Linked DNA regions of Homo sapiens: regions 1, 3, 4 and 5 are each linked to region 2. Evidence: promoter capture Hi-C in human tissues and cell types (Jung and others, 2019). All regions are on one chromosome and are shown on one strand. Each heading gives the region's core, a stretch centred on a gene start or on the middle of the fragment in contact. The rest is flanking DNA. Distances are from core to core; before and after follow the strand shown. Region 1 overlaps NFATC3 (nuclear factor of activated T cells 3). Region 2 holds the start of THAP11 (THAP domain containing 11). Region 3 holds the start of SLC7A6OS (solute carrier family 7 member 6 opposite strand). Region 4 holds the start of HSD11B2 (hydroxysteroid 11-beta dehydrogenase 2). Region 5 overlaps PRMT7 (protein arginine methyltransferase 7).

Region 1 (5,714 bases), core at 2,717-5,216, 310 kb after region 2:
CCACTGGCCTCAGCCTCCCAAAGTGCTGGGATTACAGGTATGAGCCACCGCACATGGCTGCCTCAACCTGATTTTTAAAAATTTTTTTCGTAGAGATGGCAATCTCACTATGTTGCCCAGGCTGGTCTACAACTCCTAGCCTCAAGTGATCCTCCCACCTTGGCCTCCCTGCCGTGGGATCACAAGCTTGACCCACTATGCCTGGCCTAACAACCAACTTTTCTTTCTCTCTCTCTTTTTTTTTTTTTTTTTGTGATAGGGTCTGGCTCTGCAGATTGCACATCACCCAGGCTGGAGTGCAGTGATGCGATCTCAGCTCACTGCAACCTCAGACTCACAGGCCCAAGCCGTCCTCCAATCTCAGTCTTCCTAGTATATGGGACTACAGGTGTGCGCCACCATGCCCAGCTATTTTTATGTTTTTTGTAGAGATGGGGTTTCACCATCTTGTCCAGGCAGGCTGGTTTTGAACTCCTGAGCTCAAGCGATTCATCCACTTCAGCCTTCCAAAGTGCTAGGATTACAGGCATGAGCCTCCACGCCCTGCTGCACTTTATTTTTAATAGCCCAAGGTTATAAACAAACCAAATACACGAATAAACTCTGGTGTATCCATACAATGTACTACCACTCAGCAATATAAAAGAATAAACTGTTGATACATGCAACAACTTGGACAGTTCTCCATAGACTTATGCTGAGTGGAAAAAAGTCAATATACTATATGATTCTATTTATGTAATATTTTCAAAATGACAGAACTGTAGAGATGGACAATAGATTGGTGCCAGGAAACAGGGTCAGGTTGAGGGGTGCAAATATGAAGGGGTGGCCCAAGAGAATTTCTTCATATCTTGACTGGGGTAGTAGTTATTTGAATCTATATATGGGATAAAATTGCATAAAACTATATACACACATACAAATGAATGCATGTAGAACAATGACAACTGAATAAGACCTGTAGTCTAGTTAGCAGTATTGTATCAGTGTCAATGTCCTGGTTTTGATACTGTGCTAACTACAGTTCAATATTGTGGGTATATGTACTGTATTATAGTTGGGGGAAACTAGGTGCAGGGTACATGGGGCTATAGTATCCCTTGTCTGCTTGGGATCAGAAGTCAGAAGTGTCTTAGATTTTGGATTTTTTCAAATTTTGGAATATTTCCAGAATACATACTGGTTGAGCATCCCTGATTCAAAAATTTGAATTCCAAAATGTTCCAGTGAGCATTTACTTTGGGTGTCATATCAGTGCTCAGAAAGTTTCAGATTTTGGAGCATTCTGGATTTTCAGATTAGGGATATTCAACCTGTAGTACATATACATACTATTTTTGCAACTTCCTATGAGTCTAATTATTTAAGAAGAATAAAAGTTTTAGCCAGGTGTAGTGATGTGATTCTGTAATCCCAGTTACTTGGGAGACTGAGGCAAGAGGATCACTGCTTGAGCCCAGGAGTTTAAGGCCAGCCTGGGCAACATAGCAAGACCTTGTCTCCCAAAAGAAAAAAAAAAAGGATTTTTTTTAAAAAGCTTATATATTATACAGTGGTAAGTTTTATTAAGGTATACATATTTTGAATCTTATCCCAAAAGTTACTGAAATTTGAAAAATGAAGTTTGTATTATTTTTTCATTTTTATGCATACTTTCATTTTAAGCAATTTATATTATAGAAATTTAATTTTGTATTTTTAGTATTTCTACAATGTGTTGTCATGGGTCTAATATATTTAGAGCCCATTCCCCCAACTAATCAGCAGAACTGATAATGGAACTGCTCTTATTGAAGTTGCTGTAGTCTGTCCTGTAGTGACCTTCAGGCTTTAACCCTCCAGCTTTAGTTAAATTAAGCAGGCACAGACCTTTGCTATGGAAACGATACAGAAACATAACAAACAACTTGGCTTACTTTCTTCTGCGAAGCAGAGGGTGGACTGAAGAGATTACTGATACTGGTGAAAGTTTTTAGAGACTAGTGTTAACAGTAGTAGTAATTTATTTATTGCCTACAACATAAATGCTTCTCTGGAAATCAGATGGGATAATAGTCTAATTAGTTTATTTGATCTTCCTTTAAAAGTCTCTCAGATAGAAAGGCATAGCCCTATTTTTCTTATGGTATTATACATCTGGAACAGATGTTGGTCAAAATATGTGTTATGAAATATATTCCCTTTGAAATCTTATATGAGTGATTACCTTCCCCCAACATCAGTTTATTTTATCAAAGTATAAAAAGCAAGTGGCTTATGACTTTGTGAAGCTCTTATACATGTCAGCCATCTAATATGACTAGGATTCTTTGGTATAGAGTACTTGCCAGTATGTTATTTGATATCTGGATAACTTAATAGGTAATAGCAAACTTTTTTATTTATATTCTCTATTTTAGATTTAACTACCTCATTTTGACGAGCTACTTTAATGCCTATAATTTTTTTGTTGGTTTTTTCTTTTTCTATATAAGAGCAAATTGCCTACAGTTCTTTTAGAAATAATGTATTGACTAACTTCATGAGTTATTTTGCTTCACCAAATTGTACTCTGTTATTCTAAAATTTATTCTTTCAACAATGATTGAATGCCTGTAATGTGCTAGGCGCTCTGCTAGGCTCTGGAGATAACAAGATGGATACTGTCCTCTTCACAGTGCTCACAGGCAAGTGGTAAAGTTGTTGCTGTTTATTTCTCCACTTGATGAACAGTTGGTCATGTAGAATAATTTGTTAAATTTATGATTAAACATGAAAGAGCAACAGGTATACCAAAAAGGAATGACTAATCACTGAATAGATGAATGTGAGGAAGTTGCCTAATCATTGTTAGCTTCAGATTATCTGTGAACTGAAAAAAAAAAAAAAAAAAAGACATATAGTCCACAGGAGTTTTTGGATGCAGTGAACTATAACCACTCTCTACCTTCATTTTTTTTTACCTCTGGGTATAAATCTGGATGAATCTCACGTGGCATTATTACTTACCCCATCTGCCGCCAGATAAACCAAAAGAGTAATGGCTGAAATTTGTTTTTGCACAGATACACATAAAATATATGCCCAAACTTTTCCAGTTTCCTTTTAGCTATTGATTTATTTAGGATTTATTTATTTATTTATTTAGAGATGGAGTTTTGCTCTTGTTTTGCACTCCAGGCTGGAGTGCAATGGCGCGATCTCGGCTCACTGCAACCTCCGCCTCCTGGGTTCAAGCGATTCTCCTGCCTCAGTCTTCCTGAGTAGCTGGGATTAGAGGCATTCGCCACCATGCCCGGCTAATTTTGTATTTTTAGTAGAGATGGGGTTTCTCCATGTTGGTCAGGCTGGTCTCGAACTCCCGACCTCGGGTGATCCACCTGCCTAGGCCTCCCAAAGTGCTGGGATTACAGGTGTGAGCCACCGTGCCTGACCTAGGCTTTATTTTTGTTATTGTGATGATATTGACATTTTATAGTTTTATGGAATAGTTTCCATAATTAAAGCTTTGAAATTTATTAATTTTACACTAAAATGTGTAAAAAAATTACAAATGAGAATACTGATAGATTTCTTGACTACATAAAAATTAAAATATTTACAGAAAATGGAAACATAAATGTAATAAATTGAACAGGTTTACTTTCACTAAACATAAGACAGCTGTAGCTTAAGCCTGCTGGCAGGTGAGAAAGAACCAATAAGCAAGCAGCACAAGTCATTTTGCATCTGAGAACTCTGGAAAGGTTCAGGAATTTGACGTACTGGATATCTCTGAAAGTGGGATGTGAGGTGAGACTGAAAACAAGAAGATTGGATAAAAAGTCTATAAAAGAAGGAGTTAAGACCGGGCACGGTGGTTCACACCTGTAATCCTAGCACCTTAGGAGGTTGAGGCGGGTGGATCATTTGAGGACAGGAGTTTGGGACCACCTGGCCAACATGGTGAAACCCTGTCTCTACTAAAAATACAAAAAAATTAGCCGGGCATGGTGGCTCATGCCTGTAGTTCCAGCTACTCAGGAGGCTGAGGCAGAAGAATTGCTTGAACCTGGGAGGTGGAGGTTGCAGCACCACTGCACTCCAGCCTGGGCAACACAGCGAGACTCCATCTTAAAAGAAAAAAAAATTAAATTGAATTTAAAAAGGACTTAAATTTCCCAGATGTTTCTTTCCTGTGTGGTACAGCCTAGTGATAATGCCTGTCTTACCCTGAGAGAATCTGGTGATTCTATAGAGAGAATGAAGTGGAGGTTCTAGATTCTAGGAGAGCTAAAGGCTAGGCTTAATGATCTGTTCTTAAAATGGGGTGGGGGCGGAAGGGAAGGCATAATGGAAGTCTGCATACTGAAGAGTGAGACCTCTGACCATTTTATTAGTTCCCACAATGCTTGCAATAGGTTTACTATGCTCCCTAGGCAGAAGACTGCAGGATGTGTTTTAGGCAAACTCACTGGTCCAGTAGAAGAGACCTGTAGATTCTAAGAAATAAACTTTACTTTTAACATGTTTAAATTACTGTTACTTTGGATTTTTGTTTATGCAGCCAAACTTAATCCTAATATAAAAGGCAATTATTAACTGTAACCAAATAAGTTGTATGAAAAAGGAAATATAATTAAAATACACTACAAGGCTGAGCTGCAAGTAACATGTATCCAGTTATAATGCAAACACTGAAAGTTCAAAAGATAATATATCTAACCTTGAAAAACATTAGGAAATAGCAGTATTAACATGTTCCTTAGAAATATGGAAGTAAGTTCCAAAAGAAACAGTGAAAAGGGTTACAAATGGTTCCCTTCTGAGGAGCAGAAATTGATCCAGAATTGGTGATAAATGGAAAACAAAACCATATTTATAACTTGTAAGGCAGACAAAGGGTTAATATGCTTAGTATATCTAAAGGGCTTGTAAAATTAATAATACTAAAATAGAAACAGAAAATGAGCAAATCATATAAACAGCCACAAAGGGGAAAAGTTGTCTGTGTAGACTATTACCACTTCTCTGTTCTTTGCTTTTTTGATAGGTTAGAAGTAGTTTTCTTATTTATTTGATATTTAATAAGATTGAGCATTTTTCCATTTATTTATTAGCTGTTTTTCCCTGCTTTATATGCTCTACTTATATCCTTTGAGAAGGGTAGTTGGAATTACGATTTGTCATCTTCCTTGAATCTGGAATTGTTTCTGCAGTATGAATTATAATAAAGAATCTTGCCCGTTGCAAAACATTATTATAAACCTTTGGTGGTTATATCCTGAGGTCTTTGTGCCTCTTTGGTTACAAGTCTTCTAGATCAGTGTCTCTCAGCTCTATCAGACCCAGCCCCACTCTCAAAAAAAGCCCCACATCCATTTTGTAATGCTACTTTATTAACTTGAAATGGAGATTTAAAGATAATACAATTAGGCCAGGCACAGTGGCTCATGCCCGTAATACCAGCATTTTGGAAGGCCAAGGCAGGAGGATCACTTGAAACCAAGAGTTTAAGACCAGCCAGGGCAACCTAGTGGGACTTCTATATCTAAAAAAAAAAAAAAAAAAAAAAAGCTAGGTTTGGTGGCACACTCCTGATGTCCTAGCTACTCTAGAGACTGAAGTGGAAGGATCCTTTGAGCCCAGAAACTCAGGGTTGTGTTGAGCTATGATTGTGCCATTGCACTGTAGCTTAGGTGACATAACGAGACCCTGAATCAAAAAAAAAAAGTGATATAATTGACTACACG
Region 2 (5,669 bases), core at 2,178-4,677:
CTCCAGCCCTGGCCACAGTGTGAGTGCAAGACTCTGTCTCAAAAAAAAAAAAAAAAAAATTTAAGCATGTAATATTGGCCGGGTGCAGTGGCTCACACTTGTAATCCCAGCACTTTAGGAGGCCAAGGTGGCCGGATCACCTGAGGTCAGAAGTTCCAGACTAGCCTGCCCAACATGTTGAAACTCCATCTCTTCTAAAAATACAAAAATTAGGTCGGGTGCGGTGGCTCACGCCTGTAATCCCAGCACTTTGGGAGGCTGAGATGGGTGGATTGCATGAGGTCAGGAGTTTGCGACCAACCTGGCCAACATGAGGAAAACCCCGCTCTACAAAAATACAAAAATTAGCCGGGTATGGTGGTGGGCACCTATAATACCAGCTCTTGGGAGGCTGAGGCAGGAGAATTGCTTGAACCCTGAAGTGGAGTTTGCAGTGAGCCTAGATCGTGCCACTTCACTCCAGCCTGACCAAGAACAAAACTCCACCTCAAAAAAAAAAAAAAAAAAACCAAAAAAAATTAGCTGGGTGTGGTCGTGCACACCTGTAATCCCAGTTACCTGGGAGGCTAAGGCAGAAGAATTGCTTGAACCCAAGAGGCGGATGTTGCAGTGAGCCAAGATTGCACCACTACACGCCAGCCTGGGCAACAGAGTGAGACATCGTCTAAGAAAAATAAAAATAAATAAATAAATAAATAGGCTGGGCACGGTAGCTCACACCTATAATCCCAGCACTTTGGGAGGCCGAGGTGGGTGGATCACCTGAGGTCAGGAGTGGGAGACCAGCCAGCCCAACATGGCGAAACCCTGTCTCTACTAAAAGTACACAAAATTAGCTGGTTGTGGTGCCTGGCGCCTGTAATCCCAGCTACTTGGGAGGCTGAGGCAGGAGAATCTCTTGAACCTGGGAGGTGGAGGTTGCAGTAAGCCGAGATCGCACCACTGCACTTCAGCCTCAACAATGAGAACGAAACTCCATCTCAAATAAATAAATACATAAGTAAAAATGCAATATGTGTGTTCACGTTTATACCGTTGTATAAATGATTCACCCAAATGAATGCATATCTTTTACCAGGGGCTACACCGGCCCCATTTTGTTTTTATGTCCAATAATATAATTAGAAGTAATGTACATTAGAGGCCGGGCGCGGTGGCTCACGCCTGTAATCCCAGCACTTTGGGAGGCCGAGGCGGGCGGATCACGAAGTCAGGAGATCGAGACCATCCTGGCTAACACGGTGAAACCCCGTCTTTACTAAAAATACAAAAAAAATTAGCCGGGCACGGTGGCGGGCGCTTGTAGTCCCAGCTACTTGGGAGGCTGAGGCAGGAGAATGGCATGAACCCGGGAGGCAGAGCTTGCAGTGAGCTGAGATCGCGCCACTGCCCTCCAGCCTGGGCAACAGAGCGAGACTCCGTCTCAAAATAAAAAAAGAAAAAAAAGAAATAATATATATTAGGTTTCTATTTCATGCCTGTGATCTGCTATCAGGAGAGAAAAAAGGACAAGAAAAATTGGGAGGTGACCACGATCATGTCTTTTGTGGGAATATGCATGGAGCTGGGGGCCATTATCCTTAGCAAACTAATGCAGGAACAGAAAACCAAATACCACATATTCTCACAAGTGTGAGTTAAATGATGAGAACTCATGAACACAAAGAAGACAACAACAGACACTGGGGTCTAATTGCGGGGGGCGGGAGGAGGGAGAGGAACAGAAAAGATAACTATTGGGTACTGGGCTTAATACCTGGGTGATGAAATAATCTGTACAACAAATCGCGGTGACACGAGTTCACCTATGTAGTAAACCTTCACACGTACCCCCGAACCTAAAGTAAAAGTTTAAAAAAAATTGGGAGAAGGAAGAACTCGGCAAAGGAGGGCTAGTTTGCAGGTAATTCACCTGGAGAACTGCCTGGCCCCTCCCTGGCTTTCCACAACATTTTGTGTTCTTTAAAACATTTTCCCCCAGCCAGGCGCCGTGATCCTAGCTCACGCCTGTAATCCTAGCACTTTGGGAGGCCGAGGCGAGCAGATTGCCTGAGCTCACGAGTTCGAGACCAGCCTGAGAAACATGGCGAAACCCCGTCTCTACTAAATACAAAATACATATATATATATATATATATATATATATATATATATTAGCCGGGCATGGTGGCATGCGCCTGTAGTCCCAGCTACTCCGGAGGCTGAGGCAGGAGAATTGCTTGAACCCAGGAGGCGGAGGTTGCGGTGAGCCGAGATCTCACCATTGCACTCCAGTCTGGCGACACAGTGAGACTCCTTTACAAAAAAAAAAAAAAAAAAAAAAAAAAAAGATTCCCTCAAATAAGTTGAGGTGGGGGGAGGTGTATTGTTACAATGCAAATCCTTTCCCATAAAATCCTTTAATAGCTCTCAGTGGCCTGCAGAATAAAACCCCAAATCCTTAACATGTCCCAGTTTGGTATTTTCCTACGCTTGGCCCTACCCGGGCCACCCCTTTCCAGGCTCTTTAATGGCGGAGCCTAGCTCTTTTCTGCCATGTGGCCTTACAGACTGGTTCCTGGGACAAGAATTGGCTACTTCTCCCTACCCAAGCTTTCGTTCGTTTTTTTATTCCTGGCCCCCACCACCTCCCCCCCATTTCTCTGCTCTCCTGTTAATTCCTTTGGAGCGATTACTATTTGTGAGTAGACATCCATTCGCGTGCATTCAGATCTATTATCCAAAAGACAGACGCTTATCCGTCTAGGTAGTCAGGCTCCAAGAGAGGAGCCCAGTCGGTCTGACTCCCGCAAACTCCCGGCACCGTGTCAGCCACATAGTAGGCGTCTACTGGAGACTTTGTTTAGATCAGTTAGTCAACGCAGGCAGCAGCTGAATCAGGAGAGAGTCCCCAACGCAAAGAAAGGGGCTCCTGAGACCCTTCGGGGCGCCGAGGCCCAGGTTTCGTCTCCCTCTGCTGCAGCAATGCCGTCGACTCAAAGGGGCTCGGGGCTGGGGAACTGGTTCTGGCAAACAGCACAACCTCGCCCGAATCCTGGTCCGCAGTAACTCGATCTTTCCCTTAGGCGGCGCTTCGGAGGGAAGGCGCCTAGTTCAGCGCGAGGCATCACGGGATTTGTAGTCTCCGTGGGCATATACCCACCGCGCTTGCGCACCGGTGAGGCGCGCACCGCCCCGCTCCACGCCCCTATCAGGATTCGGGTCCTCGTGAGGAGCAGTCCAGGCGACAGCGTTCCAACCTAATACGCCTCTCTCGCCCGCCGGGGACAAGACGGGCTGGGGAAAGAATCTGCTCTTCGGAGGCTATCGCAGTGCCTTGGAAGGCGGCAGGAATCCGCACACACCCGCCCCGGAAGTGAGCCGCTTCTGGCGCGGGGCATTGTGGGGGGCGTAGTCTCTTTCTCAGGCGGTCCTTCGCGGCGTCCCCGGGGCCCACTCCCGAGCGCAGGCGGGCAGCCAGGCGGGCGGCGCGGCGCGGGCCGGCAGGAAGCGTATTCTGGGCACGGGGCGCCGGGCGGGCCGGCTGCGCCGAGCGGCAGTGGTGGGATACCACCCAAGGCCTCGCGCGGCGCCGCCCGTCGAGGGGCGGGCGGCGGCGTAGCCACTGGGCCGTCGAAGAGCGCAGGAGGCCGGTGGGCCGGGCCGGGCCGCGCGGCGCAGCCATGCCTGGCTTTACGTGCTGCGTGCCAGGCTGCTACAACAACTCGCACCGGGACAAGGCGCTGCACTTCTACACGTTTCCAAAGGACGCTGAGTTGCGGCGCCTCTGGCTCAAGAACGTGTCGCGTGCCGGCGTCAGTGGGTGCTTCTCCACCTTCCAGCCCACCACAGGCCACCGTCTCTGCAGCGTTCACTTCCAGGGCGGCCGCAAGACCTACACGGTACGCGTCCCCACCATCTTCCCGCTGCGCGGCGTCAATGAGCGCAAAGTAGCGCGCAGACCCGCTGGGGCCGCGGCCGCCCGCCGCAGGCAGCAGCAGCAACAGCAGCAGCAGCAGCAACAGCAGCAACAGCAGCAGCAGCAGCAACAGCAGCAGCAGCAGCAGCAGCAGCAGCAGTCCTCACCCTCTGCCTCCACTGCCCAGACTGCCCAGCTGCAGCCGAACCTGGTATCTGCTTCCGCGGCCGTGCTTCTCACCCTTCAGGCCACTGTAGACAGCAGTCAGGCTCCGGGATCCGTACAGCCGGCGCCCATCACTCCCACTGGAGAAGACGTGAAGCCCATCGATCTCACAGTGCAAGTGGAGTTTGCAGCCGCAGAGGGCGCAGCCGCTGCGGCCGCCGCGTCGGAGTTACAGGCTGCTACCGCAGGGCTGGAGGCTGCCGAGTGCCCTATGGGCCCCCAGTTGGTGGTGGTAGGGGAAGAGGGCTTCCCTGATACTGGCTCCGACCATTCGTACTCCTTGTCGTCAGGCACCACGGAGGAGGAGCTCCTGCGCAAGCTGAATGAGCAGCGGGACATCCTGGCTCTGATGGAAGTGAAGATGAAAGAGATGAAAGGCAGCATTCGCCACCTGCGTCTCACTGAGGCCAAGCTGCGCGAAGAACTGCGTGAGAAGGATCGGCTGCTTGCCATGGCTGTCATCCGCAAGAAGCACGGAATGTGAACTGGTGCCCCGGCAGCCTGCTGGACTCCCAGACCCCATCCAGCCAGGGGACCGCAGGCCATTGTTGAACTCCTCTATACTCCTGGGCACTGGTTGACAGTACTGAGGCTTAAGGCAGCTGGACTCTCTTGCTGGTGACCTGGCATCCTCAATTGTTTCCTCCTGAAGTGGAAGCTGGGGCCTTAGACTCTGCCCTGGTGACACCAGCAATTATGACTTTGTCTACCCTTCCTCCCCAGTTATTGTTGCAGATTCTGGTTAAGCAGAGGCTTCAGAACCACTGAACTTGAAACTTACCCTCTAGGGATGCAGGTGGGATGTCCAGGGACTATAGGTTTGGGAAAACCATACCTTAAGGTTGGTCAGCAGTCAGACAACTCTAATGTGTGTAGTGATAAGAGATTCAAGTAACATCAGTTCTCCTCCTTTTCATGCTTTTCCTTCCCAGGTGCAGCCTGTGATTCTGATGGGGACTGGTAAATCTGTGCCTCTGCCTCCTAGGACTTATTTTCCCAGGAGGCCATTTACAAGGGGATCTGGATGACCTGCTGATGGAGATCCAGCTTGCCAGGGACTTAGGTTTATCCTGTTTTGTTTGCTACTGGTTACAAATTCTATTTTCTGTACAATTAGTCAGACTAAAGTTTTCACTGTGTTTGTTTGGCAAAACAAATTAAACAAAAAGTAAGGTTTTTATTTGGGTCTCGCCATTTTATTTTTACAAAAACATAGTTAAATGTCCTTGAAACATGGGGAAATAGGCCTCAGCCTTTCTGAAAGACCAGGCTGACCCTGAAAGTAGAGATGCTTCAATGACCAGTTTTTCCAAAAATGGGCCCTAAGCACATGGATCCTGGCCTTATAAGGTCCTCACAGAGTTCCTGGCCCAGCTCACCCTAAAGAGTTTGGAAACTGCACCAAATGGGCCCAGTTTGTCCATGGATTATCTCCCTGTATCCTTTCAACAAGAAGGACCAACTGGTAACTAAGCTATATTGTGATAGTTCGCCTCTGAGGGTTTCAATTCTCAGCTGGGATTGAATTTTGCTCACCATGACATCC
Region 3 (6,239 bases), core at 1,736-4,235, 470 kb after region 2:
GTGCAATCTTGGCTCACTGCAACCTCTGCCTCCCGCGTTCAGGCGATTCTCCTGCCTCAACCTCCCGAGTAGATGGGATTACAGGCGCCCGCCACCACGCCCGGCTAATTTTTGTATTTTTAGTAGAAATGGGGTTTTGCCATATTGGCCAGGCTGGTCTTGAACTCCTGACCTCAAGTGATCCACCCGCCTCAGCCTCCCAAAGTGCTGGGATTACAGGCATGAGCCACTGTGCCCGGCCTAGTGAACTATTTACTTGATTCAATTCCACGGAGCATTGGTTTACTTTACACATTTTGTAAGTCATGCATTAGTCTGGAATGTTTTGGTGAAAGATGTGGCTATGGACATCATACACAAATTGCTATCCACTTACACTAGCACCAGCTGGACGTGGTGGCTCACGCCTGTAATCCCAGCACTTTGGGAGGCCGATGCGGGTGGATCACCTGAGGTCAGGAGTTCAAGACCAGCCTGGCCAAGGTGGCGAAACCCCGTCTCTACTAAAAATACAAAATTAGCCGGGTGTGGTGGCTCATGCCTGTAATCCCAGCTACTCGCGAGGCTGAGGCATGAGAACTGCTTGAATCCAGGAGGCAGAGGCTGCGGTGAGCCGAGATCGCGCCACTGCACTACAGCCTGGGCGACAAGGGCGAGACTCCATCTCAAACAAAACAAAAACAACAATAAACAATTACACTAGTACCATTTGCTTGTTGCTTGTGGATTCATTTTGAATTATAATTGTTTTAAGTTGCAAAAATAATTAAAATGAGTTCTATAAAAATGTTTATCAAGAGAGGGCATATTGGCTAGGCGCAGCGGCTCATGCCTGTAATCCCAGCACTTTGGGAGGTTGAGGCGGGCGGATCACTGAGGCCAGGAGTTCAAAACCAGACTGGCCAACATAGCGAAACCCCGTCTCTACTAAAAATACAAAAATTAGCTGGGTGTGGTGGCTCACGCTTGTAATCCCAGCTATTTGGGAGGCTGAGGTAGGAGAATTGCTTGAACCCGGGAGTTGGAGGTTGCAGTGAGCCAGCATCATGCCAATGCACTCTAGCCTGGGCAACAGAGTGAGACTCTGACTCAAAAAAAAAAAAAAAAAGAGAGGGCACACTTTATGTTGAGAATTTTCTGGTTTTTTTTTTAGAGACAGTATCTTGCTCTGTTGCTCAAACCAGAGGGCAGTGACTTGATCACAGCTCACTGCAATCTCTAATTCCTGAGTTTAAGTGATCCTCCTGCCCCAGCCTCCCCAGTAGCTAGGACTACAAGCGCGTGCCACAATGCCCAGCTAATTTCCTCTTCCTTTTTGTAGTGACAAGGTCTTGCTTTGTTGCCCAGGCTGGCCTCAAGCGACCCTCCTGCCTCAGCCTCCCAAAGCGCTGGGATTACAGGGAGTATTTTATTTTTTTTTGAGACAGGGTCTCACTCTGTCACCTAGGCTGAAATGCCACTGCCGCACAATCATGGCTCACTGTAGCCTTGACCTCCCCAGGCTCAAGTGATCCTCCCGCCTGGGCCTCCCTACGTGCTAGGATTAGGCGTCAGCTACTGTGCCCAGCCTCAAGGAGAATTTTCCATTTCTGTAGTTTTGCTGCATGTAGTAGACTTTTTTTGGAAGTGATTGCAAATGAAGTTAGCAAATGTAATATAAAGAAAAGCACTGGATTAAATGTGAGAAAACTTGCATTCTAGACCTAAATCTACCTCAAACTTGATATGCTATCCAGGACTATTCCTTTAACCTCTCTTTGATCAATTTTCCTACCTGCTCTATCTCTATTTTGCTCCAGTGATCCCCATCTCAGTCAGGGTGAAAGGCAATGTCCTTGCAAGTACCTAGCAGGCATCCTCCCCTCAAATTCCTTACTGCTCTCCTCTAGCTCACCGGGCTCCAGGCACCTTGCAAGGAGCAAAGAAACGGCTTAAGGGCCTCTTTACTTTCAGGTTCTCTGCCTAGAAGTCCTCTCGATATGTGGAATACCCTGCCATTCACCTTCTGCAAGTCTTCACTCAAATGTCATTTCCTCAGTGACACTCTCACTGAAGTGGCACCACTCTTCCTGCTTTGTCTCCCCGCCTCCTTACATCCCTTATCATCATCTGACACTGAATAGACTTGTTTACTGTTTCTGTCTACCTGCATGTTAGGTCCTCACTGCTGTATCCACAGAATCTAAAAAAATACCTGGCATATCGTAGGCACGTAGTAAACACATGTTGGATGAACAACCAAATCTGTAAAATGAGGCCGTCACGCCGGATGGATCATCCATCCCCTTAAGATGAAACTGTGCTGCGACTGGGCCCAGTCTTCTTGCATTACCATCCTGAGAAGCCCAGCGACCACCTTCAGGGGCATACTCACTTTGCAGGAGCCTGCAGAGGCGGCTTCAGGTTCTCCCTCCTCGTGGACAAGGTCTAACAACTGAAAGCCCGAGTTCCCGGCGGCTTCTGGGTTCCCCGGCGTGTACTCGGACTCCTGGCCGCTCGAGGTGGTCCCCAAGGATCGGCGGCTGGAAAGCACCCGGTAGCGGCCCTCCTGCCGGACCTCCCGAGCCGAGGCGCGGAGATTACGGCGGACACGCTGCTGGCTGTCCCGTGACGGGCGCAGAACTTCCCGCAGGAGAGGCTGGACTGGTTCCTCCTAGGGGGCAACAGGGGACGGAGGCCAGCGTAAGCAGGAGTTCGCGAGCGGGTCAGGGATCGGGTTTCGTACCGGCTGCACCCGAAGATGCCCTCCACACCAGCTGCACCACGCCCAATACCTGGGAGCACACAGTGGCCACCAAGTGGAAGACATTATTCTCCGCCGCTCTCTCCAAACCCTCCGACGTCTTCTGTGCCGCTGACTCGACCGCGTCGCTCCGGAGGCGTTTACAAGCGAGCACAAGAGCCTCCGCCGGCTCCGCACTGCGCTTCCGCTTCACCCGGAGTACAGCGGTCCTGGCGGCCTCCATAGTGGCTGCCGCTGAGCACTGTGGGAGCTCGCGGGGTGTGATGGGATAGCTTTCCAGTTCTGCTTTAGGACCCGCCCCCCAGCACGCTCCTCGACGCTGCGAGGTCCCGCCCCGCGTGCTGGCCGCGGTAAAAGTGGTAGCAGCGGAGGCGAGCGGAGGGTTTCCCGCGGCGGGTGAGGCGCTGGGTATGCTGGGAAGGTGGGGTCGCTTTGGGGTTCTGTGTGCAGCGAGCATGGTGTCCTTGGCACCAGGGTTTCGGCAGAGGAGCCTAGCGTGGGCCTACTTGGACTCCTCCGCGTGGGGCAGCTCGGGACACCCGGGCCTGCAGGAGAGCGGGGTTCTAGGCTGGCCCCGGCTCTGCAGTGCAGCCGGGTGCCTGCCACTCGCGGGGCTCTGTCGCAGTACTCGTGCCTGGCGCCTCCCCTCAGCCACAGAGACCGCAGTAGCTCCAACCATCGCACCCCTAACTGGGCCACGAGTTCTCTGATTGCCAGACCTGTTGTCTTTGCCACTCACTGTTCTGAGTAATTGGAGAGTCGTGTATTCACTACACGCCAACCAGAGTGGTCCTGTAAAAGCGTAAGCCTAGTGTAGATACGCTTCTGCTTAAAACTCTTGAGTGGCTCCCAGTGCTTTTAGAACAAAATCCAAACGCCTTTCCGAAGTCGACAAGGCCCAGCTTGATTGAGCAGAAGATGTGATAGGAGATGAGGAGCGGGGGGCTTCTGCAAAAGTGCTTCGGTCGCTCAGGCTTTTGGCACATTTTGCTTATGCAACCTAGTTCTTTCTACCTTAGGGCCTTTTCTTGGGAAAGTTGGGGTAAGGATTCCTGACCTGTAAAAACTCTTCCCCAACTTTTATCCCGGTCTGTCTTGTAGATCTCAAATGCTAGTTTCCTCAGAGTCCTTCTGTAACCTTGGTTTTCTCTTTCTACAACGCTCTGTGTATTTCTTGCATTCATGTAGTCTGTAATTTGTATTACTCTCTCATTAGAGTCTAAGCTCTTGGAGGGCAAGGGTCTTCTCTAGCTTGTGGTGGTGGCTCCAGTCCCTAATATAGTGCCTGGCACATAGAAGGTATTTAATAAATTTTGTTATTTTATTTTTTCGAGACAGAGTCTCACTCTGCTGCCTAGGCTGAGTGCAGTGGTGTGATCGAGGCGCACTGCAGCCTTGACCTCCTGGGCTCAAGCGATCCTCACCTCGGCCTACCGAGTAGCTGGGACTACAGGCACGCGCCACTACACTCGGGTAATTTTTAATTTTAATATATGTATATTTATATATATATATATATATATATATTTTTTTTTTTAAGACAGGGTCTCACTCTGTCACCCAGGCTGGAGTTCAGTGGCGCCATCTCTGCTCACTGCAACCTCTGCCTCCCGGGCTCAAGTGATTCCCCTACCTCAGCCTCCCGAGTAGCTGGGAGTAACTGGGACTACAGGCACAGGCCACCGCGCCCGGCTAATTTTTTTAAAAATTTTTTGTAGAGAACGGGGTCTCACTATGTTGCGCAGGCTGGTCTGGAACTCCCAGACTCGATATCCTTGCGTCTCGGCCCCTCACAGTGCTGGGATCACAGGTGTGAGCCACCACCGCCTAGCAAATACATTTTGAATGAATGTAGTGGACCATCTGCTCTGCAGTCTGACGGCTAATACAATTAGGGCTTGGCATGGTGGTTTCTATTTCCTCCTTGTAAATGGCCATGCAAGTTTACAACTCTTGGAGAATGAGGAGGGGTTCAGAGAATATCTCCTGAATCTGTAGTGTAGACTGCTTCTGGGAGAGAACAAATAATAATGGATGAGGGCATTCAGCCAGAGAAGGTGTGTAGTGCCCACCAGAAGAGGTTCATGCCTTCATAAAATTGTTAACACAAGACATAGTTCCAGGTTTGTTTGTTTGTTTGAGATACAGTCTTGCTCTGTTGCCCAGGCTGGAGTGCAGTGGCGCGATCTTGGCTCACTGCAACCTCTGCCTCCCAGGTTCAAGCAATTCTCCTGCCTCAGCCTCCCAAGTAGCAGGGATTACAGGCACCTGCCACCATGCTGGCTAATTTTTTGTATTTTTAGTAGAGACGGGGTTTCGCCATGTTGGCCAGGCTGGTCTCGAACTCCTGACCTCAGGTGATCCACCTGCTTTGGTCTCCCAAAGTGCTGGGATTATAGGCGTGAGTCACCGTGCCTGGGCTGTTCCAGGTTTTGAAAAGACACTGTGGTCCTGGTTTTAGACTCAGCAACATCACAGACAAGAAAGGAATCCTATGGATTAAAGTTCTTCACTATAAGTTTTTTTTTTCCTCCAGTTCAAATGGGTAACGTGCCAATGTAGTAAAGGTTTGAGGGAGGCACGTCTGACACAGGCACATGAACACCCAGTCATCACGCTTATGAACTACAAAACGATGACTCTTAACCTTGAAGTGACTTCAGAATTGATTCCACATGGACCACAGGATTAGTATTTCAGGACTCTACCATATGGATCCTATTGATATGTTTGACACCTGGTCCAGTTTTACTTCACTAAACTGATTGATATAATGTGCATGATTGTCTAAGCCTTTCTAATTGGATGAAATGCCTTCTCCGTCCACAACCCCCTCCTTCTCCTCCTGCCTCAGCTGAATCCACCTTTTAAGCCTTCCTTGAACATTCAGTCAGATATGGCCATTTCTTTCTCTACTCCAACATTTGTTGGACACAGTTTTCTAATGCACATTACAGATTCTGACAGTTCTAGATATTCTGTCTGTAAAATAAATGTTAGTACATGAGATAAAGTGGATTATAGCAATGTTGTTAAACTGCTGGTTGCAACCCATTGATGGGTCCTGACCAGCAAGTAAAAGTGCAGCTGGGTGCCGTGGTGCATGCCGGTAGTCTAGCTACTTGGGAGGCTGACGTAGGAGGATCGCTTGAGTCCAGGAGTTTAAGGCTGTAGAGTGTAATGATCATGCCTGTGAATAGCCACTGTGATCCAACCTGGACAGCAGGGAGATCCCATCTCTTAAAAACAATAAAAATGAAATAGAGCATATCAGAGGGCCTTGTTCGTAGGAAGTCAGTATTGTTTTGTGGAACATTTAGTTGTATGCGTACATGCAGGTATGTGTATTGAGTCTCATTTTAAAGTATATTTCTTACTGGGGTTATCAGAAAGTTTGAAAATCATTAGACTAGGGGATAGGTATGCTGAGATTTTAGTAGTAGAGTTTTACCTGGACAAATTGTCTACTTTGAACCTGACTGCCGGCCTGAGTTTG
Region 4 (6,350 bases), core at 2,063-4,562, 410 kb before region 2:
AAGGGATACGGGCTTGAGGTTCCCAATGGGTGAGGCTAGCGCCAGTACACTTGCTGCTGGGGCCAGTAGTCAGTTGCTATATCTGTGGTGCCCAGCACAGGGCCTGGCATGCAGTAGGAACTCAATACAAGTTTGTTGTCTTTGAGGACAGGGAGCAATGGGGTCTAGGACCCTGGCCACTGGCAGGAAGAGGGACCCTCTGCCATTCTGCCAAGAGGAGGCATGGTGGGGGTGAAGGCGTGAAGCAGAGTGCAGGGCAGGGGCTCCTTGGGAATCTGCAGCCTCTTAGCTGCAGAGGGAAGAGGAGGTGACAAGTCAGTGCTGAGTGCTCTGCTCCAGGAACCCAAGTACAGTCAGAGGACAGAGCGAGAGGGCTCCTGGAGTCTGCCACTTGGTACCCCCTACTGTAGACATCTGTTCCCCTCTCCTCAACCCAGCAGCCGGTGGGTTACCTGGTCTTTAGCTCCTTCAGAGCCGTGCTCTCCCTACACGGCCAGCAGAGGGTACCAGTGAGCTGCTGGACTCCGCTGGAGGAGACCAGAGCCCGCCTGCCCACCCCTTTGTCCTCCAGAGCCTGGGGCGTGCTAAGGGTTTGGTTAACCAGGTTTCTGACCAAGGCGGGTTGGAGGCTGGGACAAAGGACTAAGGGAGGCTGTGGGCTGAGGGCTTAGGGGCCGAGTGGCTCAGGTGCTCTGCTCCTGGTCACCCTTCATTCCTCTGCCCTGCCAGGCCCTGCTTTATCTGTTGAGGCTCCTGCCCACTGCCCCTCTCCGCTTCTCTTCCCTGGAGGCCCCTGACAGCCTAGACTCCTGCTTCTAGCAGAGGCTGGTTTTCTGCCCCTAGGCAGGCACGACTTGGCAACAGGCCTCAGACAGGGCTGGGCCAGCTTCTGCCAGCAATGACTGCCCTAACCACCTTGTACTTCTAGAACGTCTCCACCTAATAAGGGATAAGGGGTCAGTGGTTGAGGAGGCCACAGGAGCTGGAGCATAGGTCCTGGGAAGGAGGAGGCTTGGACTAGGAAGTGGGATGAATGGGCAGGGGGAGTTTATATAAAAATGTGGCAGATGGTCCAGTCCCACCAAGACCCAAATCCCATAAGACTAATGGCTCTGCCTGAGGTGGCACGAGGTTCCAGAAGCTGAGCTGGAAACACCCCCTTCCTCATCCTAACCATGTTATACTCTTCAGCCAAACGCAAATCCCAACATCGCCTCCTGGCAAGTCTGTCCCCATGGTGGCCTTCACGGTTCCTTCCCAGGACAGTGTAGGACCCTGCTTCTGCCTCTTTCCTTATCTTGCCTTCCTGCCCCATCCCCCTACTCTTCAACTCCTGCTTTAGCAAGTGCTGGTTCTATCTGTGTTGCCTTGACCTTGAAGGCTCCCCAGGACCCTCATCTCAGCTTCTACTCCCTTCCTCACTCCAAGGGGAAGACTCCAATGGACTGAGGCTGGAGAAACCACAGCCAGACTCTTGGTGTGGTGGCTAAAGCTGGGGGGTCTGGCCAATCCAATCTCTACAGCTCAAATCAGGAAGTCAGGCCAGGGGTGCTGTGTCTGCCTCCAAGCCTGGGCCATACATTCACCGCAACAGGAATCAGTGACTTTGGAAAAGGAATGTTTCCCTGAGTTTCTAGAGGCAGGATGACCCAGACCGAAGGACAGAGAGTTACCAGAAACACACACAATGCACACAAATGTACTCACTTGCACACACAGGGTCATGGCATAGGGAGTGACACAACCAAATGGCCTGGACAAGCCACAGAGTCCCATGGACACAAGTGCTTACAAACACAGGCACACAAGGTCATGTACCCAAGGTCAGGCACACACACCCTCCTCATTCAAGTCCTGCCTCCCAGGTCTGGGGCTTGCCTGTCATCTGTCCTTAGGAGGAGGGATAGGTGGAGGCACAGGAGTGGCTCAGGGCAAATTGGTCCTCCACCCAGAGACTCTCCCTTTAGGTGGGTCTGGCTCCCAGCCTCCCCTGAGATTTCCCTGGCTCACCAGGGGGCTGTGTCTGGTGGCAGAGAGGGCTTTGGAGGAGGCATTGCCCTGAAACCCTGGCAGAGCCTGGGCACCTAAGAGAGAATGAGCAACAGGGCTAGGAAGTGTGACAGGGAGTCCACAACCTCCCAGGATCTTGGGAGGGCAGGGATGAGGCACTGAGCACGGCCTGGAAGCCCACGGGAAGCAGGGACCCCTCTGTCGAGGGCTACACCTACTGCTCTCAGCATCAAGCCTGCAGCCAGGTACTGGCACCAACTCCCAGTGCCTGGCAGAGCCCTGGCATGGATGCTAGGCACAGGGTGCCAGACACGGGGGTGGGCAGGGTGGGGGGCCACTGGGCCACACACAAGCATGGAGACCTTCACACACGCAGGCAGAAAAATCCACCCACACTCATACCACTTATTTTACCCCCTGGGGGTTCAGGGGAGCAAGGCAGGGACCACCCTGTCCTAGAGGCTGCCTTCACCGACGTCCCTCTGGCCTGGCTCTTGGGGTTGGCGGGGGTGGGCCATAAGTAATGGGAGACCTAGGTGCTTCCTCTGACACCCCACCCTCCACTGACCCCCACACACATACATTTGTGAGGCAGGAAGTGGGGTTGTGCGTCCCCAGGTTTAAGCCCTGGAAGGAAAGGGAAAGACGGGGCAGAGACTCCAAGAACCGGGAGCGGTCGTCCTGTTCCCCCGCCAGCCCCTGTCCCAGGCAGGTTTTGTGGCCGCGAGCTGCTCAGGGGTGAGCGCGCCTTAGGGTGTGTGCGCCAGGGACCTGGCGCAGCCGACCACGTGGGAGTGCGGCGCGTGTACGGGCGCGGGCGGCAGCGGCAGCGGCAGCGGAGACCGGGTGAGCACCGGCTGGTTCCTCGCGGTGTTCCTGCAGGCTTGGCGGCCGCGGTGGTGCGATCAGCAAAGGGCACCGGGATGCCGGTTGTGCGTGTCCTCAGGTGTCCCGAACAAGCGTGAGTGGCATGTGCTCACCTGAGCGCGGCGGCTTGGCGGCCCCGGGCGTGTGGGTGGGGGCGCGGCGGAGAGCTGAGGCCGGGCACCCGGGCTGGACCGACGGGCCCTCTCCCAAGCACCGCCCGCAGCCAGGCGGCTCCTCGAGCGCAGCAACTTTGGGACTTTGTTCCGGCTTTTTCCAAATCGAATCTGGTCGAGGGGGCGGGGCGGGGGGGGAGCACCTGCCCTGCGGGGGGTGCCGGGAGAGAAGTGAAGGAAAGCCCCGCCCCCGCCCCTCCCGCTCCCCGCCCTCTCCCCCGCCCCCGGGGCTCTTCATAAGCTCGGCCCGAGGGCGAGCAGAGAAAGCGAGTGTCCCTCTCGCGCCCCAGGCCGGTGTACCCCCGCACTCCGCGCCCCGGCCTAGAAGCTCTCTCTCCCCGCTCCCCGGCCCGGCCCCCGCCCCGCCCCGCCCCAGCCCGCTGGGCCGCCATGGAGCGCTGGCCTTGGCCGTCGGGCGGCGCCTGGCTGCTCGTGGCTGCCCGCGCGCTGCTGCAGCTGCTGCGCTCAGACCTGCGTCTGGGCCGCCCGCTGCTGGCGGCGCTGGCGCTGCTGGCCGCGCTCGACTGGCTGTGCCAGCGCCTGCTGCCCCCGCCGGCCGCACTCGCCGTGCTGGCCGCCGCCGGCTGGATCGCGTTGTCCCGCCTGGCGCGCCCGCAGCGCCTGCCGGTGGCCACTCGCGCGGTGCTCATCACCGGTGAGTGCGCGGGTCGCGGAGCGCGGGGACTCCAGGCTCGAGGGCGGGACTGGACACTCAACAGGACTGACTCCCCATGGGCACAGCCAAGGCGGGCTCCTCAGCGCAAGAGTGGGAGAGTTCTCCACCCCTGGGTGCAGGGAGCGAGCCAAATAGGGAGCGCCGGGCACCTCCCCAAGCCCGGGTTCACTACCTGCCGCTGCGGGGAGTGTTGGAGGGAAAGTGAGACAGGGAGTGGGCCGGTTCGAGAAGGAAACTGACTGGTGGCTGAGAAGAGGGAACCTCCTGGAGTTTGAGAGTTTATGCCATTCCCTTCCCCAAGAGAGCAGTCTCAGGGGACTTCGGAGGCCTTGAGAAGGGAGGATCGTTACCCCTTGAACTCTGCCTGACATCCCCACCTAAGATACCCATCTCCCATTCCTCGGGCCAGAGGGAAGAGCTTAGATGGGGAACTTCCCCACCCCACCCATCCCCCACTGGCTGGGATCCTTGGAGTTCAGAAAAGCTAGAGGTCACCGTGAGGGGCAGCTGGACATTCAGCTGTCTTTCTGTCTAGCCACCCACTGCCAAACTGCTGAGGCAGTAGTTTGGAGCCTACACCCAGCACCCCACCCCCAAGCCCTCCTGGTCCTCTGTGCCCAGGAAGGAGCTCTTAGAGAGCTGGGCTCAGGTGCCTCTGGCCGCCTAGCTGAGCTCCTTTGTCTGGAGCAGGGAATAAATCTGTCACCAGAGGGAGGGAAGGGGAAGGGGGGGGGGGGCTGGAGGCCCGCCGGAAGTGGGGAGGGGGAGAAAGGCCAGGGGGCACTGACTCCATTGCATCGTGGGAGGAGCAGCCTGGTCTCTCGCCAATACCCACGGCTTTGGACAGGTGCTCCAGGCTTTGTCCTTGCGCTGGGCCTTTGCTGGGGCAGCCAGCAACCTGGCTTCTCAGAGACCTCGGTCTAGTAGGGGCCCTGTGTGATCAGATGGGGCTGGGAGAATTTTCCGGAGGAGGAAATCCTTGAGTGGGGCCTTGGAGCATGAGTGGAGATAAGTGGAGTATGAAAGGGATCTCGGATCAGAGAAAGGATGTGGGACAAAGGCTTAAGGCAGGAGTACACACGGTCTCTGTAGGGGACAGCCAGTCTGGGTGTGGGGGTGGGGAGAAGGGGATATGAGGTGGTTTCCTTGGGAGGGGCCATGAATCAGGTAAGAAGCCAGACTGCTGAGGCAGAGTAGGGGGGAAGGAGGCACAAGGGCCTTGCACTCCAGCAAAGATGGTAGAGATGGGGAAGCATTCGGGCTGGACAGGAGAGACCCAGGTTCCAGGCGCAGTGTGAAGCCTCAGCAGACCCCAGTTTCAGAGGTTTGAGGAAGGAAAATCAACAGACACCCCGGGTATGAAGTAGGGGCCAGGTTGTGGGCTCTGCCTCTGGGGACAGGGCAGATCCCTTCCTGCTTTATTTGTGAGCCACCTCAACAGGACCCAGGCCATCTGCAGGTACTAGTGGCCTAGCTGGGTAGTCTTTCCTGAGGTCTCACCTCAGGCCTTTGTGCTGCTGCTGTTGCTTCTGGCCTTGAGCCTGAGAGAGAGGTGAGAGGAAGGATGCTTTCTCTAACTTGGGCTCCTCCAATCTCTGGTTGCAAAGCTGGGGTTGGGGGAGAGAGGACCACCCAACCTGCCCTGTACAAGCATCAGTAAGACTCCAAGTTTCCCAGGGCCCGAACACTTGGGGGTTGTCTCTCAACACCCGGCTGGAAGACAAGTAGGTAACCAGGTTCAGCCCCACCTGCCAAGAACACTGTGTTTTGGGCCTGGCAGAGCTGCTACTCCCCCTCTCCCTCCTAAGAATGCCCAGAGAATCACTTGCCAAGGCTACTCCTGGAGCTCAGCTGTGGGATCAGGGTTTGGGCTGAGGATCAGGTGCCTGTGTGCACACATGTGCACATGTGTGTGCCAATGGGTGGTAGGGATTGAGCCCGTTGTGAGAACATCCAGCCAGGTTGGAAGTGTGTACAGGTATCTGAGGGTGTGCACGTGAGCAAGAGGGTGTGCAAGATGTGGGTGACTGTTGGGACCACAGAGCTGAGGCCTGTGGTCAGCTCAGGTCAGAACTGGGAGGTCTGTTTCCCTTGGGAGGACCTGTCTGCTCTGAGGGGGACCCGGACAAGTGCACATATGCATGTGTGTGTCTACACACACACACACACACACACACACACACACACACACACATATGCTTGCCTCCCTCTCCAAGGCAGACTTGCCTGGGAAGTACCCCTCCTCAGCAGGAGCTCGAAGACCCCTGCCCAGTGCTGTTTTCAGTAGAGGGAGTGGAGCTGAGATGGGGAGACCGTACTGAGCGGTCCAGGAGTAGGGAAACAGAGCTGCTTTGCAGCTTCTGTTCCAGAAGATGGGGGTTGGGGGGCGGGGTTGAGGGCCAGGGGTGGGAGCAGGAGCAGAACAGAAAGCCTCCCTGCTCACTGGCCTTTCCCCTTCCCTCACTGGCTGCCCATGGAGCCAGGATCAGCATGGGAACAATCAAGGAGGCAGGGGCTTATCAGTACTATGGACCCCTACACTGGCTCTGCCTGGTGGTTCTTCTCTTCGCATACCAAAGACAGAAATTAAGCCTCCAAGAGTGGTAACTGACCTCGGTCACACT
Region 5 (5,447 bases), core at 127-2,626, 490 kb after region 2:
TAACACGGTGAAACTCTATCTCTACTAAAAATACAAAAAATTAGCCAGGCATGGTGGTGGGCACCTGTAGTCCCAGCTACTGGAGAGGCTGAGGCAGGAGAATGGCGAGAGTAGTTCTGACATTCTGCTTCTGCATACAACATGAACAATTTTCCTGTATAGCATTGTCTCTTAAGGTTTCCAGAATATGTATATGTACACACACACACACACACACACATATTTTTTTTTTGAGACGGAATCTCACTGTGTCACCCAGGCTGCATTGCAGTGGTGCAATCTTGGCTCACTGCATCCTCCACCTCCTGGGTACAAGTGATTCTCCTGCCTCAGCCTCCCAAGTAGCGGTGATTACAGGTGCCTGCCACCACACCTGGCTGCTTTTTGTATTTTTAGCAGAGACGGGGTTTCACCATGTTGGCCAGGCTGGTCTTGAACCCCTGACCTCAGGTGATCCGCCTGCCTCAGCCTCCCAAAGTGCTAGGATTATAAGCGTGAGCCACCATGCCTGGCCTCCAGAATATTTTTTATAGTCTAGAACTTTGTTTCAGTCTTTGAAAATTTCACATGCCACTGACACTTAGAGAACATAGTTGAAAGATTTGCAAAGGAAAAACTGTGGTGAAGTTATGGATAACACCATGGGTTTTTTCTAATTTTTTGTGGAGATAGGGTCTTACTATGTTGCCCAGGCTGGACTCAAACTCTTATGCTAAAGTGATCCTCCCATCTCAGCGACCCAAGTACCTGGGACTACAGGTGTGCACTACTGCACCTGGCTTTTTCACCACGGTTTTGGAGAATGCAGTATCATTCTGAATTGAAGCTTCTACCTAAGGTCAACATTATTCTCCCATTTAACAATTTTTTTTTAATGGAGAATCTGAAACATGTACAAAAGAAGTGGGTACTATCTTATTTATTTATTTATTTGAGACAGAGTCTCACTCTGTTGCCCAGGCTGGAGTGCAATGGCAGGATCTCAGCTCACTGCAACCTCTGCCTCCCATGTTCAAGCGATTCTCCTGCTTCAGCCTCATGAGTAGCTGGGATTACAGGCGTGCACCACCATGCCTGGCTAATTTTTGTATTTTTAGTGGAGACGGGGTTTCACCGTGTTGGCCAGGCTAGTCCCGAACTCCTGACCTCAGGTGACCAGCCTGCCTCGGCCTCCGAAAGTGCTGGGATTACAGGTGTGAGCCACCGCGCCCGGCCTATCTTTTTTATTTTTAAAATATACAATAGAGTGCTCAAATCATTCCATTTACAATCAACGTTATTGAAGTATGATTTACATTAAATGAATATCCATTTTCATTATGGATATTTGACAAATATAAACACACTTGTAACCACCATCACCATAATGAAGATAATAGAACATCTCCATCATGCCCAAAGAGATTCCTCATAACCCTTTCTATCAGTCCCCCCATATCCTGGTCCTAGGCACCCACTCATAGACTTCATTATAGATTAGATTTGCCTGTCTAGGATTTCAAGGAAGTGGAATCAAAGAAGTGTGGACTCTTCTGTGTGTGTGCTCTCTTTTTTATAGCGTGATGCTGGTAAGATTCTTCCACACTGTTCATGTCTTGGGGGTCCGTTCTTTTGTGTTACTGAGCAGCACTCTATTAGATAGATGTACCATAACTTGTTTATCTCTCTACCTGTTGATGGACAGGGATTTCTTGGATAGGTCTTTAGATTCACTGATCTTTTCTTTTGCAGCATCTAATATGCTGTTAAGTATATTTAGTAAACTTTTCATTTCTCTTTCTTTGTTGTTCTTTTTTTTTTTTTTTTGAGACAGGATCTTGACCTGTCCCCCAGGCTGGAGTGCAGGGGTGTGAGCATGGCTTATTGCAGCTTTGACCTCCTGGGCTCAAGCAGTCCTCCTGCTTCAGCCTCCTGTGTAGCTGGGACCACAGGCTCATGCCACCATGCCTGGCTAACTTAAAAAAAATTTTTTTTTGTAGAGATGGGATCTCAGTTTGTTGCTTAGGCTGGTCTCAAACTCCTGGGCTCAAGCGATTCTCCCACCTCAGCATCCCAAAGTCCTAGGATTACAGGCGTGGGCCGCTGTGCCTGGCCTCATTTTTGATATTGTATTTTTTAATCTCTGAAAGTTCCACTTGATTCTTTTTCATAACTTCCATTTTTCTCATGTTCATAGTTTTCTATAAGCACATTTATTTTAGCTTTTTGAACATCCTTATCTTCTGTTCCCACCATCTTTGTTTTTTCTGGGTTTGTTCTCTTGACTCATTTTTATCCTTATTCTGGGTCACATTTTCCTTCTTCACATGTCTAACCATTTTTGTTTGGATGCTGTGGCTATTTGGAATTCCCCATTGTTGAGTGCTAGACTTCGTTGGTTTTGCTTTTTAAACTTTGGCATGCAGTTGGGTTACTTGCAGTTCAGATTGATCCTTTCAGGGCTTGTTTAAGCTTTCTTTGGAGTGGGGTTAGAGTAGCTTTAAGTCAGGCCTTCTCAACAGTAGTGCTGTGACGTTTTGGCATTCTCCAACTATGTGACATTTTGATAATTCTTTGTTGTGGACCCTGTCCTTTGCATTGTAGGATGTTTAGCAGTGTCCCTGGCCTCTTCCCAGTGGATGTCAGTAGCACTCCCCTCCTCCCACCATTCTTGCCAACTAAAAATGTCTCCAGACTGCCACGTCTTCCTTGGTCTCGAGTGTGTAAAATTGCCACCTGTTGAGAACCACTGCTCTAAGGCTGTTTAGCCAGACAGTTACTGTAACCTTTCTGGAGTGTCTGCTGAGAGCTCTAGGTGCTCAGCAGGGTTTCCCTTGTCTGGCTGATCAGAACTTGAATGTTTCCCAGGCCTCTGAGAGCTCCGGAGATTGTTATCACTCATGCAACCTTTGCTCGGCTTCACAGAGTATTACCCTGTGTGTGTGTGAATGTATTAACACAGACCCTAGAGGAACCCTGTGCAGCATTCTGAAGGCTTTTTTTCTGTGTAATTTCCTCTCTGATTCTCTGCCTGGCAAGTTCCAGCTGCTTCCACTTCCCTGAACTCGTTTCCTGTCTGTTTAACTCAGCAAGACTGCCGTGCTCTGTGTCACCTCTTACCCTATACTGTGGTCTGGAAAGGGTCTCCTGGCTGATAGCCAGAGCAGGGTAAGGGTTACTTGGTTTGTTTCCCTTCTTAGGGAGCAAACTGTGTTGCCTCTTGCTCAACATCTGAAAACACTTGTTTCATATATTTTGCCCAGTTTTCTAGTTGATAACAGCCGGAGGGTAAGCCTGATCCCACTTATTCCACTATGGCCAGAGTGGAGATTGATTCATTTATTTATTTTTTTTTGAGACAGTCTCACTCTGTTGCCTAGGCTGGAGTACAGTGATGCGAACACAGCTCACTGCAGCCTCGACTTCTGGGCTCAAGTGATCCTCCTGCCTCAGCCTCCTGAGTAGCTGGGACCACAGGCAGGCGCCACCATACCCAACTAATTTTTTTGTTTTTTTAAATTTTTATTAGAAACTAAGTCTTGCGGCTGGGTGCAGTGGCTTATGCCTGTAATCCTAGCACTTTGGGAGGCCGAGGCTGGCGGATCACCTGAGGTTGGGAGTAGCAACCAGCCTGACCAACTTGGAGAAACCTGTCTCTACTAAAAATACAAAATTAGTCAGGTGTGGTGGTGCATGCCTGTAATCCCAGCTACTGAGGAGATTGAGGCAGGAGAATTGCTTGAACCTGGGAGGCAAAGGTTGCGGTGAGCCGAGATTGCGCTATTGCACTTCAGCCTGGGCAACAAGAGCAAAATTCTGGCTCAAAAAAAAAAAAAAAGAAAAGAAAAGAAACTAGGTCTCGCTTTGTTTCACAGGCTGGTCTTGAACGCCAGGCCTCACACAGTCCTTCTGCCTCAGCCTCCCAAAGTGCTGGGATCACAGATGGGAGCCACTGTACCTGGCGAGATCATTTATTCTTGAAAATTTATCCATTTTGACGGCAGGGAGACTGATCTGCAGGGCAGCCTTGGCCATGAAGTATGCTGACTCTGCCTCCAGGCAGCATTGTTCACACACACCTCAGCTTAGGCCAGGCCCCTCATATGATTTCTTATTAAAAAAAAAAATTTTTTTTAGATAGAGTGGCTCTGTCGCCCAGGCTGGAGTGCAGTGGCATGACCTCGGCTCACTGCAACCTCCACCTCCCGGATTCAAGTGATCCTTCCACGTCAGCCTCCTAAGTAGCTGATATTACAGGCATGCACCACCACCTGGCTAATTTTTGTATTTTTAGTAGAGATGGGGTTTCACTATGTTGGCCAAGCTGGTCTTGAACTCATGACCTCAAGCGATCTGCCTGCCTTGGCCTCCCAAAATGCTGGGATTACAGGCATGAACCACCACGCCTGGCCAATTTCGTAATACTTTTCTTCATAGCGCTTACCACTGCAATCATTAAATCATTATGTAGTTATGTATTTAATGTCTGTATCCCCACCCAGCTGAGGCATCCTGAGGTCATGCACTGCGTGGGTTGTATTAACTATTCCATTCCGTTATTTGCTCCGGGCCTGTCATGTAAAGGAGTTAGGTAATTTTTGTAAAGTGAGTAGATTGTCAGTTGTGCTTCATCCATAATCCCTTGTAAATGTGACTTTGTTTCCGATCCTCAGCCTGACAAGTGGCTTCCTCATTGCCAAGTTGGGTGGTCTTTCCTCTGCTTTTCCTCTCTAACCACTGCCGCTTTGGTACTTCTGCCATTCCTTCCTTCTTGAAACTCTCCCTGGACCTTAGTGACATCTCTTCATCTTGGTTCTCCTGTGTTGCTTTCTTTCTGCTCCAGATGTATACTTTCCAAGGTTCTGCTCTCAGCCCTTTTTAAAAGTGGCATCTGAAGTTGCCTGTTCCCCAGAGCTGGGTTACATGCTGAGGCTTGTGGAGAGCCAACCCAGGGAGCAGCGTGTGTTCATCCGTCCATTTTGTTCATTTGGAAAGGGCTTAGGAAGCTCCTGGGGTGGCTACCTGCTTCAGACTCCCCCACCCCGTGCCCTTATACATTAGCAGTCACACTCAAAATACCAGGCCCTCAAGAAGTACTTGTTAAAATGCACTGGACCATAAAGCTTGAATTTTTTTTTTTTAATTTTTATTATTTTTTGAGACAGTCTCACTGTATCACCCAAGATGGAGTATGGTGGGGCAATTTCAGCTCACTACAACATCTGCCTCCCGGGTTCAGGCAATTCTCATGCCTCAGCCTCCTGAGTAGCTGGGACTACAGGCGCGTGCTACTACACCCGGCTAATTTTTGTATTTTTAGTAGAGACAAGGTTTCACCACATTGGCCAGGCTGGTATCGAACTCCTGGCCTCAAGTGATCAGCCCAGCTTGGCCTCTCAAAGTGCTGGAATTACAGGTGTGAGTCACTGTGCCTGGCTCTTGATTTTTATTTTAATGAAGCAATTTGG

Evidence for each region. Contacts are between HindIII fragments. The study calls those that stand out against the background at their distance.
Region 1: a fragment that was not itself captured here is called in contact with the fragment with the promoter of THAP11 in region 2 in 3 of the 25 tissues and cell types used here (aorta, lymphoblastoid cells and spleen).
Region 3: the fragment with the promoter of SLC7A6OS here is called in contact with the fragment with the promoter of THAP11 in region 2 in 1 of the 25 tissues and cell types used here (stomach).
Region 4: the fragment with the promoter of HSD11B2 here is called in contact with the fragment with the promoter of THAP11 in region 2 in 2 of the 25 tissues and cell types used here (ovary and spleen).
Region 5: a fragment that was not itself captured here is called in contact with the fragment with the promoter of THAP11 in region 2 in 4 of the 25 tissues and cell types used here (dorsolateral prefrontal cortex, hippocampus, lymphoblastoid cells and 1 more).

Annotation. Positions count from the first base shown.
Region 1 is chr16:68,144,899-68,150,612 of GRCh38, forward strand. All of the region lies in intron 3 of NFATC3 (nuclear factor of activated T cells 3), which reads left to right. Among named protein-coding and RNA genes, the nearest start is that of NFATC3, 62 kb to the left of the region's middle. The HindIII fragment of the contact is 8,254 bases long and covers 1-5,714 here.
Region 2 is chr16:67,838,893-67,844,561 of GRCh38, forward strand. It overlaps THAP11 (THAP domain containing 11), which reads left to right and starts at 3,428. Exons shown (of 1, transcript NM_020457.3): 1 at 3,428-5,303. The coding sequence starts at 3,663. The coding sequence ends at 4,607. The region is part of intron 1 of CENPT (centromere protein T); the gene reads right to left. RefSeq lists enhancers at 3,142-3,191, 3,644-4,390, 4,102-4,261, 4,702-4,751 and a silencer at 3,442-3,621. The HindIII fragment of the contact is 20,232 bases long and covers 1-5,669 here.
Region 3 is chr16:68,307,961-68,314,199 of GRCh38, forward strand. SLC7A6OS (solute carrier family 7 member 6 opposite strand) reads right to left here and starts at 2,986. Exons shown (of 5, transcript NM_032178.3): 1 at 2,775-2,986; 2 at 2,375-2,653. The coding sequence starts at 2,966. It overlaps PRMT7 (protein arginine methyltransferase 7), which reads left to right and starts at 3,059. Exons shown (of 19, transcript NM_019023.5): 1 at 3,059-3,139; 2 at 4,082-4,216. It overlaps LOC124903789 (small nucleolar RNA U13), which reads right to left and starts at 5,380; the gene lies at 5,279-5,380. RefSeq lists an enhancer at 1,991-2,955. The HindIII fragment of the contact is 13,375 bases long and covers 1-6,239 here.
Region 4 is chr16:67,427,809-67,434,158 of GRCh38, forward strand. HSD11B2 (hydroxysteroid 11-beta dehydrogenase 2) reads left to right here and starts at 3,313. Exons shown (of 5, transcript NM_000196.4): 1 at 3,313-3,705. The coding sequence starts at 3,441. RefSeq lists enhancers at 207-741, 742-1,276 and silencers at 2,982-3,031, 3,252-3,431. The HindIII fragment of the contact is 17,409 bases long and covers 1-6,350 here.
Region 5 is chr16:68,329,680-68,335,126 of GRCh38, forward strand. All of the region lies in intron 6 of PRMT7 (protein arginine methyltransferase 7), which reads left to right. Among named protein-coding and RNA genes, the nearest start is that of PRMT7, 21 kb to the left of the region's middle. The HindIII fragment of the contact is 4,800 bases long and covers 1-3,776 here.